Regions from separate parts of the Homo sapiens genome. Here region 2 is linked to region 1. The links are contacts of gene promoters, found by promoter capture Hi-C in blood cells and fetal thymus (Javierre and others, 2016). All regions are on one chromosome and are shown on one strand. The core of a region is centred on a gene start or on the middle of the fragment in contact, and the rest is flanking DNA. Distances in the headings are between cores, read along the strand shown. Region 1 holds the start of CYSTM1 (cysteine rich transmembrane module containing 1). Region 2 holds the start of DND1 (DND microRNA-mediated repression inhibitor 1).

Region 1 (7,062 bases), core at 3,040-5,539:
AGACTTTCATTCAGTAGAGTTACTGAGTGCCTGTGCATGCCATGTACCAGCAAGTGGACAGGCTTTCTCATTTTCAGGAGGGGTTGCTTCTAGTCCCTGGTCAGCCCTTCTTCACCCTTTGGGGCTACACCATTGCCTTCTGACCCAGCCTGAATACTTCTGCCAAGTGATTCTTCCCAAACACTGCATTCCATTCTCATTTCCCACTTCAAGGAACTTCAGTGGTTCCCTAAGTTTTCATATTGAATCTATTCTCATCTGCTCAGTCCTTAATAAAACTAATAATAAAAACTAAGTTTAAGGCACTTACAATGGGCCAGGCATCATGCTTACATTTCATAGGTTGCTCAGTTCATCTTCAAAGTGACACTATAAAGCAGATATCAATCTTATTCCTATATTTTTTGGACGAGGAAACCAATGCACAGAAAGATTAAGTAACTCACTCAAAGTCACATGGTCAATATGTGGTGATGGAGTCCAAATGCAATCCTGTCCCTCTGGATCCAGACTCCATGCTCCTCCCAGAAGATTCTACTGTCTCAAAAGCTCTCCCACAGTCTGCTCCATCTCTATCTTATTTCCCACAACTCCCCAGTTTCCACGGTTCAGTTAGGCTGGTCTTACAGCTATGCCCACCATTACCTAATTTCATTGTCTTTGCTTTTTTTGTTTAATCATGCATCCATTCATTCAACAAAGCGTGGCTGATCTTACACTATGCTGATAATTTCATTATTATCTTTGCTCATTCATTCATTCATCTAGCCAGTGAATATTTACTGAGCCCCTGCCCCGGCTGCTCAGATCACCGCCCTGACCCAGAATGTTCTCCTCACCTACCACCTCTCCAAATCCTATCTTTTTTTTGTTTTTGTCTTTGTTTTTTGTTTTGTTTTGTTTCTCTGTGATGGAGTCTCGCTCTGTTGCCCAGGCTGGAGCGCAGTGGCACAATCTTGGCTCATGGCAACCTCCACCTCCTAGGTTCAGGCGATTCTTCTGCCTCAGCCTCCTGAGCAGCTGGGATTACAGGCATGCGCCATGACGCCTGGCTACTTTTTGTACTTTTAATAGAGATGGGGTTTCACCATGTTGGCTAGGCTGGTCTTGAACTCCTGACCTCAAGTGATCCACCCACCTTGGCCTCCCAAAGTGCTGGGATTACAGGCGTGAGCCACTGTGCCTGGCCAATCCTATCTTTCAAGGCTCTGCTACAGACCCTTCCTTTCATGTATCCCACCTTAGCCAATGCAGCTGGCATGGCCCCTCTTTCCATGAACGCTGCGGGCATGGAAGGACATGACATAGTTTAGCATTCAATTTCACAGCAGCCTGGCAAGGTCTCACACTGTCTTATCTTCCCATCAGAAATTGGATGCCTGACCAAGCCAGGGCACATGCTCCTTCTGTATCCATCAGTCTTGAGTGTACATTAGGCATCCAAGAAACATTCTTTCATCCAGTTGTTCAGAGAACAAATGTGGTCCAATAAAAATACAATGGTTTAAAAAATGGCCCTTTAAAAAATATTACGAATCTGGGTTCTCTTTCTTTGCCCTGGAATTCACCTAAAGTTTATGATAGTCTTGTGAGGTAGGTATTATTATCTCTATTTTACAGATAAGGCAGAGACTCAAAGAAGGTGAGTAACTTGGCCAAGTTCACAAAATGGATAAATCTCAGAACACAGGCTCCCAACGACTGCACCATGTTGCCTCCACAGTCCTTGGACAGTTCTCCCGAATGAACAAATATTGAAAATTCATTGTTACTTCTGTGACTAATGGACTTTCACAGCAAATATGCTTGGCCAGGACCTTGTACCCTGACATTTTTCTTTTATTTCCAGGAATGGAAACCCACACTGCTGTTGTGAAGACACCTGATGAAACTCCAGCAACTTCTACATCTGGCCTGCTGCTTAGTCCTGGGACCTGAGGTCAAAATCTTAGAAAAGAGCCATGTGAGATGCATTCCCTGGCCTCATCTCTGTTCTTGGATGCTGTCAGCAACACTCCTTGAGTTTTTACCCACATAATAACACTTTCCTCAGCATGGATGTGGAGGTGGGGGTGAGGAATGTTCTATTTTTCCTTCGATGGTTACGCCCTCACCCTACCAACTCAGTAAAAGGGGAGTGGTCAGGGAGCGTACTGAGAATGTGTCCTAGCATCTTTTCTTCCCTAGCACAGCCTTCATATGACCCAGCTGCCATGAGAAGCTTGCCTCCCTTCTAAGGGAATTACCCCTGCCTTCCACTCCATCCTCACCTTGCCCTGCCCAGATTAGAGGCACGGAGGCATGTACCACAGGCCTGAAAAACTGTCCAGCCAAAAAGCCTGACTGCCTTGAGTACTATCAGGGTGTAGTTATGGACGTGCCTGTTTCTGCTCTTCCCTCTGCATTAGTGCTCTGCAAAGGGTGGCTCTTACCCTCAGATGGTCCAGAGGTAGTTTGGGGTGTGCATGGATCACCTTCACTCTTCAGAGGCAAACAGACAATGCTGCTCTTCTCCAACAGCCTCTGAAGGACACCACCTACTGACTGGTTCTGAGATGTTTGCTGCCCCAGAGTCTCCCACCTGCTTCTTCCTCCCCCTCAGTCCTTTTTTGTAGCCTCTCAGCCTCCCTTCTCTTAATGCTCTTAGCACCCTTTCCTGGGTCTCTATTTACCCTGCCCTCCCTTTCAGCAACTCCTTCCCAAACCACTGCATACTTCTCCTTTCTTTCCAATCCCTCCTCCCTTCCCAGCACTTTCGCCCTCCATTGAATCCCTCAAGCCTCATTCTGGCCCCACTCCTCCCCTCACCCTCTATCCCTGCCCTCCTCAGATCTGCCAAACACCTCAGGCCTGGCTGCCTCTGTCCTGTTCCTACCAACCTTCTGACCATGCCTCTGTGCTCCTTGGGACCTGGGCTCACATTTTCAATCTCTTCTCTCCTATTAGTACAGCTCTGTCTAGAGCCATGGTTCTTCTCTACCTTTCACAGCTGTCTTCTTTCCCACTTATATGAGTTTCTTTAAGTGTGAAAATTAAAAAGTGCCACTTAAATACAATGATTAAGTCATAATAAACAGTACAAGTTGTACTTATGTGAGACATACCACCCATACACGTTTGATCTTCGAGAACCACATCTCAATCTGCCCATGGCCCATTGCCTGACACTAAAAGATGCTCACAAGAAGTTGACTATAAACTAACTTCTTGGTCTAAGATCCTAAACTCTTGAGAGGGAAGGTTTCAATACATATGAAACCTTCTTGGCAGTGCAGGGATGAGGAGAGTAAAACTGAAATGAAAGTCAGCAAATAGTGAAGGTGTGAAATAGGCAGTGACTCTCACACTGAGACCTCCAGGGGATGTTAAATTTTCATTTCGAAGCTGATAGTCTTATCTGGGAAGCCTAGAGAGTAACAAAAGTTGTAGGCATATACTTATATTAGAGTGGTGCAAAAGTAATTGCTGTTTTTGCCATTTAAAAAAAAAATGCAAAAACCACAATTACTTTTGCACCAACCTAATAGCAAGCAAGGGGAGGAATATGGAGAGAAAATCAATTTCTAAAATGAAAAATAAAAAATTTTTTGCAAGTAGGACTTGCAAGCTCATTCTAGGCCTTGCTCTGGGAGCTTTTCGGTAACTTCTCTTCCTGTTGGAACAGAAGAAGGAAACCTTCAGGACAGAAGATTCTGTCCCCCTTCCCCCTCCTGATGTGAATGAAGTCTCATTACACTCTAAAGTACTGGCGGGACTACTTGTTGCAAGGTTTATGGGGAAAAGTAGCCAGAGAGCAATCCAGTTATCAGCCTCAGCCCCATTCCGCTCAGGTACAGCTCGGGAAGTAAGCCCCCAACCCTAGTTGGGTCTGGACCAACAAGACACGAGGAGGCAGCAGCCCACAGCCGACCCCTCATGCCACGCACTGAGCAGGGTTCCGCATGGACGCTGGTCTTGCCTCCCAGGCGCCTGAACTAGCGGAGTTGGGGTATCGGGTGGAGTCTCGGAGAACCAATCCAATCTGAGGGGGACGCCTGTGGGAGTCCTAAGTATCCAGCGCAGCTGGGAGGCCCACGTTGGGAAGTCGGAGACCGACCCCGCCTCCCGACTGCGCCGACTGCAAGAGAGCGCTTCCGGCGGCGCTTGGAGGCCGAGCAGTTGGGGGCGGGGCTCGTGCTGTGACGCAAGCCTCGCCTCGCCCCGCGCCGCGCGCGTTGCCAGGGTGATCAGGTGACTCCCGGTTCGCGGCGCTGGGAGCGGCCGTGACGTCAGGCGCCCGGCTGCTCCTCACTTGCTCTGAGACAGGTGCGGCAAGTCTACTGCGGGCTGGTCCGGGCTCCTCAGGTTCAGACCCGACCGTTATCCAGTCGGTTCGTGGAGAGGAGAGGTGAGGTGCAGCGGACCTGGCCCGACCCAGCTGGGACCAGGGCGGGGATCAGGCACGGACAGGGCGCGTCCCCGGGCTCCCTGGGGAGCGCCCTGAGAACTGGGGGGCACCCGGGCTGGCCTGGCTCAGGCAGGGGTTCGCGCAGCCCCTGGGGAGGGGCAGGGAGGCAGGGAAGCTGCTGCCGCCAGCTGGATCCCTCCCGGCGCCCCGCGGCTACTCTGGGGCTCCTGGTCGCCGCGCCGCGCGTCTCGGCGGTGGACTCACAGGGTCTCCGCGTCGCTGCGGTTCTCGTCTCACGAGGAGTCGGCGGGCTCGGAGCGGGGCTCGCCACACCCCGTCCCGGGGGACGTCCGCGGGAGGCTTCTGGATTTCTTCGCCTTGGGCTGCGATTTCTGAGGCGCTGCTCTGCCTATTCCGAGCTGGGCCAGCCGGGGGCAGGGGGCAGGTCGCGAGTCCCGCGGGTGGGAGCGGAGCGGAAGTAACTAGTGACTGGAAGTAACTAGGGAACGCAAAGCCGGCGCTCGGAGGCCGGGGTGTTCAGAGAAGGCGTTGCGGGGGAAAGGAATCCCGGCTGCTGTTGAGAGCCGTGGATTGGGATCTGAGCGGACCTGTTGGAGGAAGTGAAATCTGAGCGGGGTCCTGACGGGTGGGAACTAATCTCCCGGTAGCAGTGGAGGTTGCAGGGGGGAGAGAAGGAGGGGAGGACCCCTGGGGAAGGAGACCATGAGGAAAAACGATTTGGGGACTGACTGGACCGTCTGCTGGGCTGTTTTGGGGGAAAAAAAGTTTGGAGAATTAGGTTAGGGAGGATTAGGAAAGGACCCTTGAGTGCCCACCTGAGAGGCACTGTGTGCTGTGGGGAGCCATTGAAACGTTGGCTAGATTGGGGTAGGGGGAACACTGAGGAAGTTGGTGTGAGGGGAACACTGAGGAAGTTGGTGTGACATTCCGGCAAAAAGGTGACAACACTCTTCTCTGATGGGATTCCTCAAACCCTGCTTATGAAATACTTGTAACCGACAAGGGTAGGGGCTCAGGCAGCCAGGTGCCTTTTTCAGCCATTGTTGGCAAATTTTTAGAAATTAAACAAAAAATAATTGTACATATTTATAGATTTATACAATATGATACATGTAAACTTTGTGGAGTAACCATGTTAGCAGATTTTTAAAAATTCCTTTTTATGAAAGGACCCACCCAAGGGCAGCTCATTTTCGAGTATCTCATTTGACGGGATTTAATGACTGGTTGGGAGCTATGCCCCCCTCAGTATGCAGGGAGATTATAGCGTCCACAACACTTTGCCCTTCAGAGGTTTCAGAGTGACTTACAAACACCTTGTATCCCTAGGGTGAAACCCAAACCCCAAATGACTGGTAAGAGATTTAATAGGGGGAAGTTATTAAAGGAGAACCAGCATCCAAACATTCATGTGGGGCATTGGATTCGCTGAAAGGAGTCCCATACTATTTGTTGATTGTAGATCAAAGATCTCTAGACCTGGCCTGGTGCGGTGGCTCACACCTGTAATCCCAGCACTTTGGGAGGCCGAGGCGGACGGATCACGAGGTCAGGAGATCGAGACCATCCTGACTAACACGGTGAAACCCCGTCTCTACTAAAAATATAAAAAATAAGCCGGGCGTGGTGGCGGGCGCCTGTAATCCCAGCTACACGGGAGGCTGAGGCAGGAGAATGGCGTGAACCCGGGAGGTGGAGCTTGCAGTGAGCCGAGGCTGCGCCACTGCACTCCAGCCTGGGCGACAGAGCGAGACTCTGTCTCAAAAAAAAAAAAAAAAAAATCTCTAGTCCTTTCCTGCCAGCTTTGAGTTTCTCCGTGTAAGGCTGCGTAAGTGTTAGTTGGCTATTTTGTCTTAATTTCCTGAGCAACAGGAAAAATATATTTTGGTTATATGAAGAGGAATGCTTTGGTAATTTATGATTTTTCCCAGCCCTGAAATTTATTGGTGCTAGGACCAAAAATACACAGCTGTCTATTTTATTTTATTTATTTGTTTATTTTTGAGGCGGAGTCTTGCTCTGTCGCCCAGGCTGGAGTGCAGTGTCGAGATCTTGGCTCATTGCAACCTTTGCCTCCTGGGTTCAAGAGCTGTCTATTTTATATTGAAACTTACCAAAGTCTGTTTTCTGGGAGGTAGTGAAATTATTTTGTATTTCTTTGACTCCAGAAAACAGAATTGGACCTCCAGGGATCCTGTACAGTGAAAGGCAGGTTTGGGAATTGCGAAGGAAGGTGGCCGCAGCTGGTTTGTGCGTAAATATAGAAACCGGTGCAGCACTCAAAGGAGTGCAAATCCAGGGTGAGACCTGGGGAAACGGGACTTCCAGTCAGATCAGTGAAGTCATTCTCTGTAAAAGAAGCCCCGAAGTGTGTAAAAGGCCAGAGTAGTTTTTTCCCCGTGTGTTCCTGTTGAGTGGTAGAGATTATGATAGTGATTTTTAAGGGGCTTTGCAGGAGCTTGTTAATATTAAGAATCGCTGGAAATCAGATGTCTTGGCCTCATTAAAAAATTTAGAAAAGTAACTGTTTTCCAAATCTCTTTGATACTATTTGAAGTGGCCAACTAATTATGGTTCCTTTGGAAAGAAACAGTCCACCCCCTCCTTTCCCAAACAAAATAACTATGTGCTGTCAGGGCAGTTAAGTAGGCCAA
Region 2 (7,062 bases), core at 3,919-6,418, 500 kb after region 1:
GACCGCTTTGCCCTGAGAGCTGAATCTATCGACTGCATGGTTCCAGTCACCGAGAGTCTGCTGTGTACTGGCTCCACTGATGGAGTCATCAGGTGAGGGAAGCCTGGACAGCCCTTAGGTCACAGGAAGGGCAGACCCAGCTAGCCAGTACTCAACACTGTTCTTTCCCTGCCCAGGGCTGTGAACATCCTACCGAACCGAGTGGTGGGCAGTGTGGGCCAGCACACTGGGGAGCCTGTGGAGGAGCTGGCCCTCTCCCACTGTGGCCGCTTCCTGGCCAGTAGTGGCCATGACCAGCGCCTCAAGTTTTGGGACATGGCCCAGCTGCGAGCTGTGGTGGTGGATGACTACCGTCGGCGCAAAAAAAAGGGAGGACCACTGCGGGCTCTGAGCAGCAAGACTTGGAGCACCGATGACTTCTTCGCAGGACTGAGGGAAGAGGGAGAAGACTCCATGGCTCAGGAAGAAAAGGAGGAGACTGGGGATGACAGTGACTGAAGGAATGAATTGAATCTTGAGACGGGTCCTCACCAGGCAAGAGTCTTGCTTATTGGGCTGCATCCCCAGAGAGGATATGAATTATTTTTTGAAAAGACAGGGTTTTGCCATCGTCCAGGCTGGAGTGCGCTGGCTTGATCTTGGCTCACTGCAGCCTCAATGTCCCCAGGCTCAGATTGTCCTTCCACCTTAGCCTCTGGAGCAGCTGGGACTACAGGTGTGCACTACCACACCAGGCCAATTTTTGTTTTTTTTTTTTGGTAGAAACGGGTCTGTTTTGCCCAGGCTGGTCTTCAACTCCTGGACTCAAATGATCCACCTGCCTCTGCTTCCCAAAGTGCTGGGATTACAGGCACGAGCCACCACACCTGGCCAAAAAAATTTATATTTTTTGAGACAAGGTCTCACTCTGTCACCCAGGCTGGAGTACAGTGGGTTGATCATGGCTCACTGCATCCTTGACTTCCTGGGCTCAAGTGATCCACCTCAGCCTGCCTGGTAGCTGAGACTTAACAGGCATCTGCCACCATGCTTGACTAATTTTTGTGATTTTTTTTTGGTAGAGACCAGGGGTTTCACTATGTTGACCAAGCTGGTCTTGGAACTCCTGGGCTCAAGTGATCCTCCTGCCTTGGCCTCCCAAAATGCTGGGATTACAGGCATGAGCCACTGTGCCTGGCTGGATATGAAATTTTTTTTTTTTTTTTTTTTGAGACAGGGTTTCGCTCTTGTTGCCAGGGCTGGAGTGCAATGGCGTGATCTTGGCTCACTGCAACCTCCGCCTCCCGGGTTCAAGCAATTCTCCTGCCTCAGCCTCCCAAGTAGCTGGGATTACAGGTGTCTGCCACCATGCCAGGCTAATTTTTGTATTTTCAGTAGAGACGGGGTTTCTCCATGCTGGCCAGGCTGGTCTCGAACTCCTGACCTCAGGTGATCCACCCGCCTCAGCCTCCCAAAGTGCTGGGATTACAGGCAAAAGCCAACACACCCGGCCTGGATATGAATTTATAATACCCTACAGTGCAACACAAGAAGATGCACTCAAAGCACTGATGTGAGGAAGTACTTGCCCCGTAGCAGCTATTCACTCTACCAGTGTAAACAAACTCTAAGCTAGGGCAAGACAGCACAGACACAAGTATATACTAACCAGGGGTTTAATATAAATACAACCAGCATAGAAAGACCCAAAACTATACAGAAACCAAAACCAGAATGCCATGTGGTGGAGGCAAAGGGCAGAATTTCTGACCCCTTTGGCTCAGCTGCCCTTCCCCACAAATAAAAACCAACAAAGAGGACAAATCAGGACAATAAAGAAGATTCATGCTAAGCTGTGGCAGAGGGGGGAAGGTATGATCGGGTGGGGGTGGGACAAGGAACGGCCATGGAAGATCACTGGGTCAGGTTGGACCCTGGGCTGGGAGCGGGAGGGCAAGGCCCCTCACCACAACTTAACCCAAACCTAAGCTGCCCCCAGGTGCCATAGGTCCCTGTCCCAGCAGGGAGGCTGATGGGCCTGGGCCCATGCCCCTCCCCACCTTTGGGGGTCAGAAAGTGGCCACCCAGGCCTGCTGGGATGGGGCCTGACACAGGCTCTGCATGCCCATTCAGGGTGCCTGTGGAGAAAGAATGGAGTCACTGTTTAACCATGGTACCTGCCTCAGCCCCAGCAGACCACAGGAGGTTGGCCCCAGACTCACTGAGTGCCTGCAGCAGCCGTACAGACACAGCATCCTTGGCCACCTCATGCCCATCCCGGCCATCTAGGGTCAGCACAACCCAGATGAGGCCGCTGAAGGGCACCGGATGCCCAGGAATCACCACCTGGTACCAGAAGCGGTGCCAGCCAGCAGGTCCTATGCCCAAACACTTGGTGAGGAACACAGGGCTGCCCAGCTTCATTCGTTGGCACAGCAACTGCAGGGTAGCCCGAGCCCCTTGGAACCCTAACTTGTCCCTTGCCAAAGCCAACTGGCTGCCCTCTGGCTGTGGGGACCGCAAGAAGGGACCCACAAGCTGCTGGCGAAGTCGCTGCTTCAGGTCTGGCTTGAGCCACTCCACAGCCACCTGCTCTCCACAGAGGTGTGACTGCCCTGTAGGAAAAATGCAAAGACAAGGGCAGGTCTAAACCCTGGGCCCAAGCCTCCAGGTGGTGAGCCCTTTGGAGCTACACAGTCCTGTTATTTGTAGCCTTCCCATTTCCTGGTAGTGTGACCATGGGTAAGAAAAGACAATGAAGCCTTCAGCCTCCATTATTTGCAAAGGGAGTATAACACACTGCTACCTTACAAGTTTCCTTGGAGAAGTACTGGTTAATTGCAGGCTTTGTCTGCCTCATAACCATCATAATGGCTAATCTTTACTGGGAAAACTTGCTGTAAGTCAGTCAGTGTGCTAAGTACCGTACACCCATTATGTTACTTAATTCTCATAACAGTCTGAGGAAACAGATTCTATAGTAGTAAAAAGCTCAGTTGGATTCCCTTGAGCAAATCAATTTCTCTAACAGTTTCCTCATAGCTTGAGGGTCCTGTGCCTATTTTGCGGTGTGGGGGTGGGGGAAGGTTGAGAATTAAGTCAGGAGGTAATGCTCGGGAAGTGTCACAAATTTAGGTAAGCGGTGGTGGTAGCACCATTGGAAGTTTTAAAAATCTGAGATCAAATAGTAAAAGGTTGCAAATTCTGGCATGTTTGACTCTAAGATCTTGTAACTTTAACAGCTATGCTCAGTATAAAGTGCCGGGCAGAACGCGTTTGGCCCCAACCAGCACCCCCGCCCCAGCCTACCTTCCACCAGGGCCTTTTTGGCCATGGCAGCGGCCCGGTGCGAGCTGAATTTGAGCAGAGCGATCTGCCCGGGCGCCGGTCCGGGGCTGGGCAGCAGCCGCGCCTCCTGCAAGCCGGGACCCAGCGGCTGCAGCGCGAGCAGCAGCGCGCTGCGGGTCAGATTCGGCGGCAGGCCGTCAACGCTCAGCTCACACTTCTCGGTGCTGCGGCACACGAGCAGCGGGCAGGACGGCCGCAGCGGATGGTTGTGCAGCGTGGCGATGGCGGCCTGCGCGCCGCGCCTCGAGCTGTAGCGGGCATAGGCGAAGCCGCGGTTCAGGCCGCTGAAGGTCATCATCAGGCGGAACTCGTAGAGGCGGCCCACGCGCTGGAACAGCGGGATAAGCTGGTGCTCGTACACGTCCTGAGGCAGCCGCCCGATGAACACCTCTGACCCAGCTGGCGGCGGGCTGCCCACCCAGCCTGTGGGAAGAGGGTATGCAAGGCCACCGTCAGGCGACGCTTTCGAATTCTGAGCCCACGGACCCAGCGCGCGGGGGTGGGAGGCGATGTGAACAAAGGTCTGTGAAATGGGTTTACACCCGTACCCTGGGTGGTTGGCATAATTAGGTGACTGCGCTAACAAGGGGGCTGGCACAGAGTAGGTACACCTTGAGATTGGCCCCCTCCCTCGACGGGGCGGGTGGACGTGGAGCCACAGTTCCTCCTTTGCTGGGGGGTATAAATCCGGGTAGTTCGCAGTTTCTGACAGTGAAGGCTCGGAGCAGCCCCTCCCCCAAAGGGGGCTGGTGTAGCCGGACAGGCGGAGGGGCTGGGACTACCGTACCTGGGGGTGGCCCGCCATACTTCCTCTGCCCGTTCACCTGCACCAGGCGGATGCCTGTCTCCCTGACCCACGCCTCCAGCGCCGCCTTGTTCTCTGGATTCACCCTCTCACACCACAGCTGAGAGGGAAAGGAAGGTTGGAATGGCGGATCGCCAAGCGCGCCCCCACCTCTCCTGTGGTACTGGGGTCCCTAAAGCCGACCCCCGCTCCGGCGGGGCTCGCCGGCCCCCAAGTCGCCAGCCGCTTACCTCACAATCCCGCTTGGACTGCATGGCTCTCCAGCTGGCCCCCTCGTACCCTCTTTATAACTTCCTCCCCACCGGCCTCTGGAAGCTTCCCTACCCCTCCACCCCGCAAGCTCTCATTGGCTCTGAGCGCGACCCCGCCTCCCAGGGGGGTGGAGGTATCCACTGCACGTGCGCCGCCCGGGCTTCGCTCAGACCTTCAGGTGAAAGCTGCAAAGTCGCGGGTGCGTATGTACGGGGGCTGCCTCCCGAGGAGGAGCTCCCAAGCCGCAGGGTGGACGCTGGAGACAAGAACCTCAGGGTCACAAGTTTACTGTTTTTCTCCCTTTTCCATCCCTACATTGGTCTGCTGGGGAAGGCGGGGCTAGGCATCACTGACACACGCAGACTCCGTGGTTGAGGCATTTTATTGGACCTTTGGCAATTGGTGGTGGGGAGGCATCTGCTCCAACTGGTGCGGGGCCCTGCAGATGGGACCATCTCAGGCTGGGTCCTTGTAGCCCAGGAGCACAGACTGGACTAAGCCTCCTGGGCCTTGTATGAAAAAGGTGTTGTACCTGGCCGTTTTTGCCAGTAATAATCAATAAAATAACCATAATAAAAATCAAAGGCTCTGTTCTGACCACTCTTCAGGTCTTCCGCTGAAACGGAAAAGTGCAAAGCAATTGAAGTACATATGCAGTTTGTCTTAACCTCAAATAGTGCCAGTCCCACTTCCTTTCCTCTGATAGTTTGTTCAGTTCAGCAGATGCAGAGGGGCTGGCCTGTTCTCCTTTTGATTTCCTCCACAAGGTCTTCTCTTCGGACATCCACCTGGCCAGGATGGGAGAAGAAGGTGGTATAAGCATCTTCCATTCCACTGCTCCCCGAGTGCCTAGTTTCCTCTAGCCCTCTAGGCATCAGGCTTGTCTCAGCTGGGAGCAGGAACCTAATTAAACACCTCAGGCTAGAGTGTGCCTCTTGGGGGAGCCAACAAACCATAAGGTATATGCAGGGATGGAGATCTCACCCTACTAAGACCACAGTAACAGGTTAAGCCCTCAAGGCTTTTATGAGTTGTACTAATATCAATGCCAGGCTTTTTCTCAGGTCTTGAATGGGCATGGGCCTGCCAAAATGGCATACATTCTCTGTCCCTTAGCCTTCCTGCCCACCTCCCTCACCTCTTCCCTGCTCGTCACTGAACGGAGCTTGATGACCCCATCCTTGAGTTCCTGCTCGCCGATGATAGCCACCAGTGGGATGCCTGCCTCCTCACAGTACTGTAACTGGTTCAGTAGCTTTGGGTTCTTCTTGTACAGCAGCTCAGCCTGCAGGGGACAAGAGCAGAAGATGAAGGCTGGCTTCTGCTGTCCTCAGGGACAGAGGGTGTCCAAGCTGGCACCCTGTTCTTAGCTCTACTTTTGAGAAGTAATGGCAGGATCCATTATGGGTGAGCTTTTATTCAGTTTGTGTCCAGCACACCTAAGTTTGCTGCCACCCTGGGGCTTGCCTCCCATACCTTGATCCCAGCATCCCACAGTTCTGAGACAAGCTTTAGTCTTTCCTCTAGCAGCTTCTTCTGTGCAGATGCCACAAGCACCTGTGTCTCCGTGGTCCGTATCTTCTCCTCCAAAGCCTGGGGAAGGGGCAGATAAAAGAGAGCTGGGCTAACACCTTCAAGGAGCAAACAAAGCAGGCTCTAGTCGGGATTTTGAGACCAGGCCCAACTCAGCTCTACCAGGGCAGGGGCCCTGTCTTCTCATCTAGCACCTTGGGCATAAAGGTAGCTTTTAGTAGATATGAGGACTGAACTGACTGACTTGTACATAGGACGTATCAGAATAAATAACTTAGGGCAAGAGTAAAGGTAGCTTTTTTACAGTAACTTCAAGCTTATCTCCATGTAGTACCTTTTTTTTTTTTTTGAGACAGGGTCTCTGTCATCCAGGCTGAAGTGCCGTGGTGTGATCACTGCAGCTTCGACCTCCCAAGCTCAAGTGATCCTCCCACCTCAGCCTCCTGACTACAGGCACACACCACCATACTCAGCTAATTTAAAAAAAAAAAAAAATTTTTTTTTTTAATCTGTAGAGACAGGGTCTCATCATGTTGCCCAGGCTGGTCCATGTAGTACCTTAAGGGTCCACCAAAGCATTCACACAGAAGTACTACTATGAGCCCACCCCAATTAGATCACCCTTGACAGTTTTAGTCCCCACTTACTATCTACCCATTTATGACACTGTGCCTCTCACACTTCAGTTACAGGGCACAGGCGTGTATATGGGTGTGGGGAAAGGAGAATGCTGCTGCTGCTTCCCTTGTCTTTTTCAGGAAAACTATTTTCATAGTTCTTAGAATGTAAGATGCCTACTGGAAAAATGATCTCAACTGGGAAATGGGTGGTTTCCACCCTAGAGAAAAGGCATAGGACTGTGGGGAGGTTGCCAGAGCATTTCCCAGAAGATGAAATGCAACCAGCCACTTAAGACCAGCAGCAACAAAGGAGGGCTTGAGGCTACAAGAGGCTTCCTTGGTGTTACTCTAGGTGCTAGAGAGTCACGGTAGCCATCTGAGGGATCCCAGGGCCTCAGACACATGCTTCCCATTTAGAGACAGTATTGCAGTGTGGTTAGTGGCAAGACTTTGGAGTCAGACTGCCTGGATTCAAATTCTGACCCTACCACTTACAAGTTTCATGGCCTTAAGCAAATTATTTGA

What was found. The method cuts DNA at HindIII sites, captures the fragments that hold promoters and counts their contacts. A CHiCAGO score of 5 or more calls a contact.
Region 2: a contact is called between a fragment that was not itself captured here and the fragment with the promoter of CYSTM1 in region 1, in 1 of 17 cell types (neutrophils). The highest score is 5.6, in neutrophils.

Annotation. Positions count from the first base shown.
Region 1 is chr5:140,170,899-140,177,960 of GRCh38, forward strand. It overlaps CYSTM1 (cysteine rich transmembrane module containing 1), which reads left to right and starts at 4,290. Exons shown (of 3, transcript NM_032412.4): 1 at 4,290-4,387. RefSeq lists an enhancer at 3,868-4,097 and a silencer at 4,388-4,677. The HindIII fragment of the contact is 7,638 bases long and covers 2,220-7,062 here.
Region 2 is chr5:140,669,157-140,676,218 of GRCh38, forward strand. It overlaps DND1 (DND microRNA-mediated repression inhibitor 1), which reads right to left and starts at 4,420. Exons shown (of 4, transcript NM_194249.3): 1 at 4,363-4,420; 2 at 4,115-4,232; 3 at 3,289-3,750; 4 at 1,638-2,594. The coding sequence starts at 4,386. The coding sequence ends at 2,137. HARS1 (histidyl-tRNA synthetase 1) reads right to left here. Exons shown (of 13, transcript NM_002109.6): 11 at 5,861-5,977; 12 at 5,523-5,669; 13 at 4,749-5,172. The coding sequence ends at 5,101. It overlaps WDR55 (WD repeat domain 55), which reads left to right. Exons shown (of 7, transcript NM_017706.5): 6 at 1-92; 7 at 177-3,189. The coding sequence ends at 498. RefSeq lists enhancers at 3,294-4,089, 4,090-4,885. The HindIII fragment of the contact is 1,446 bases long and covers 4,446-5,891 here.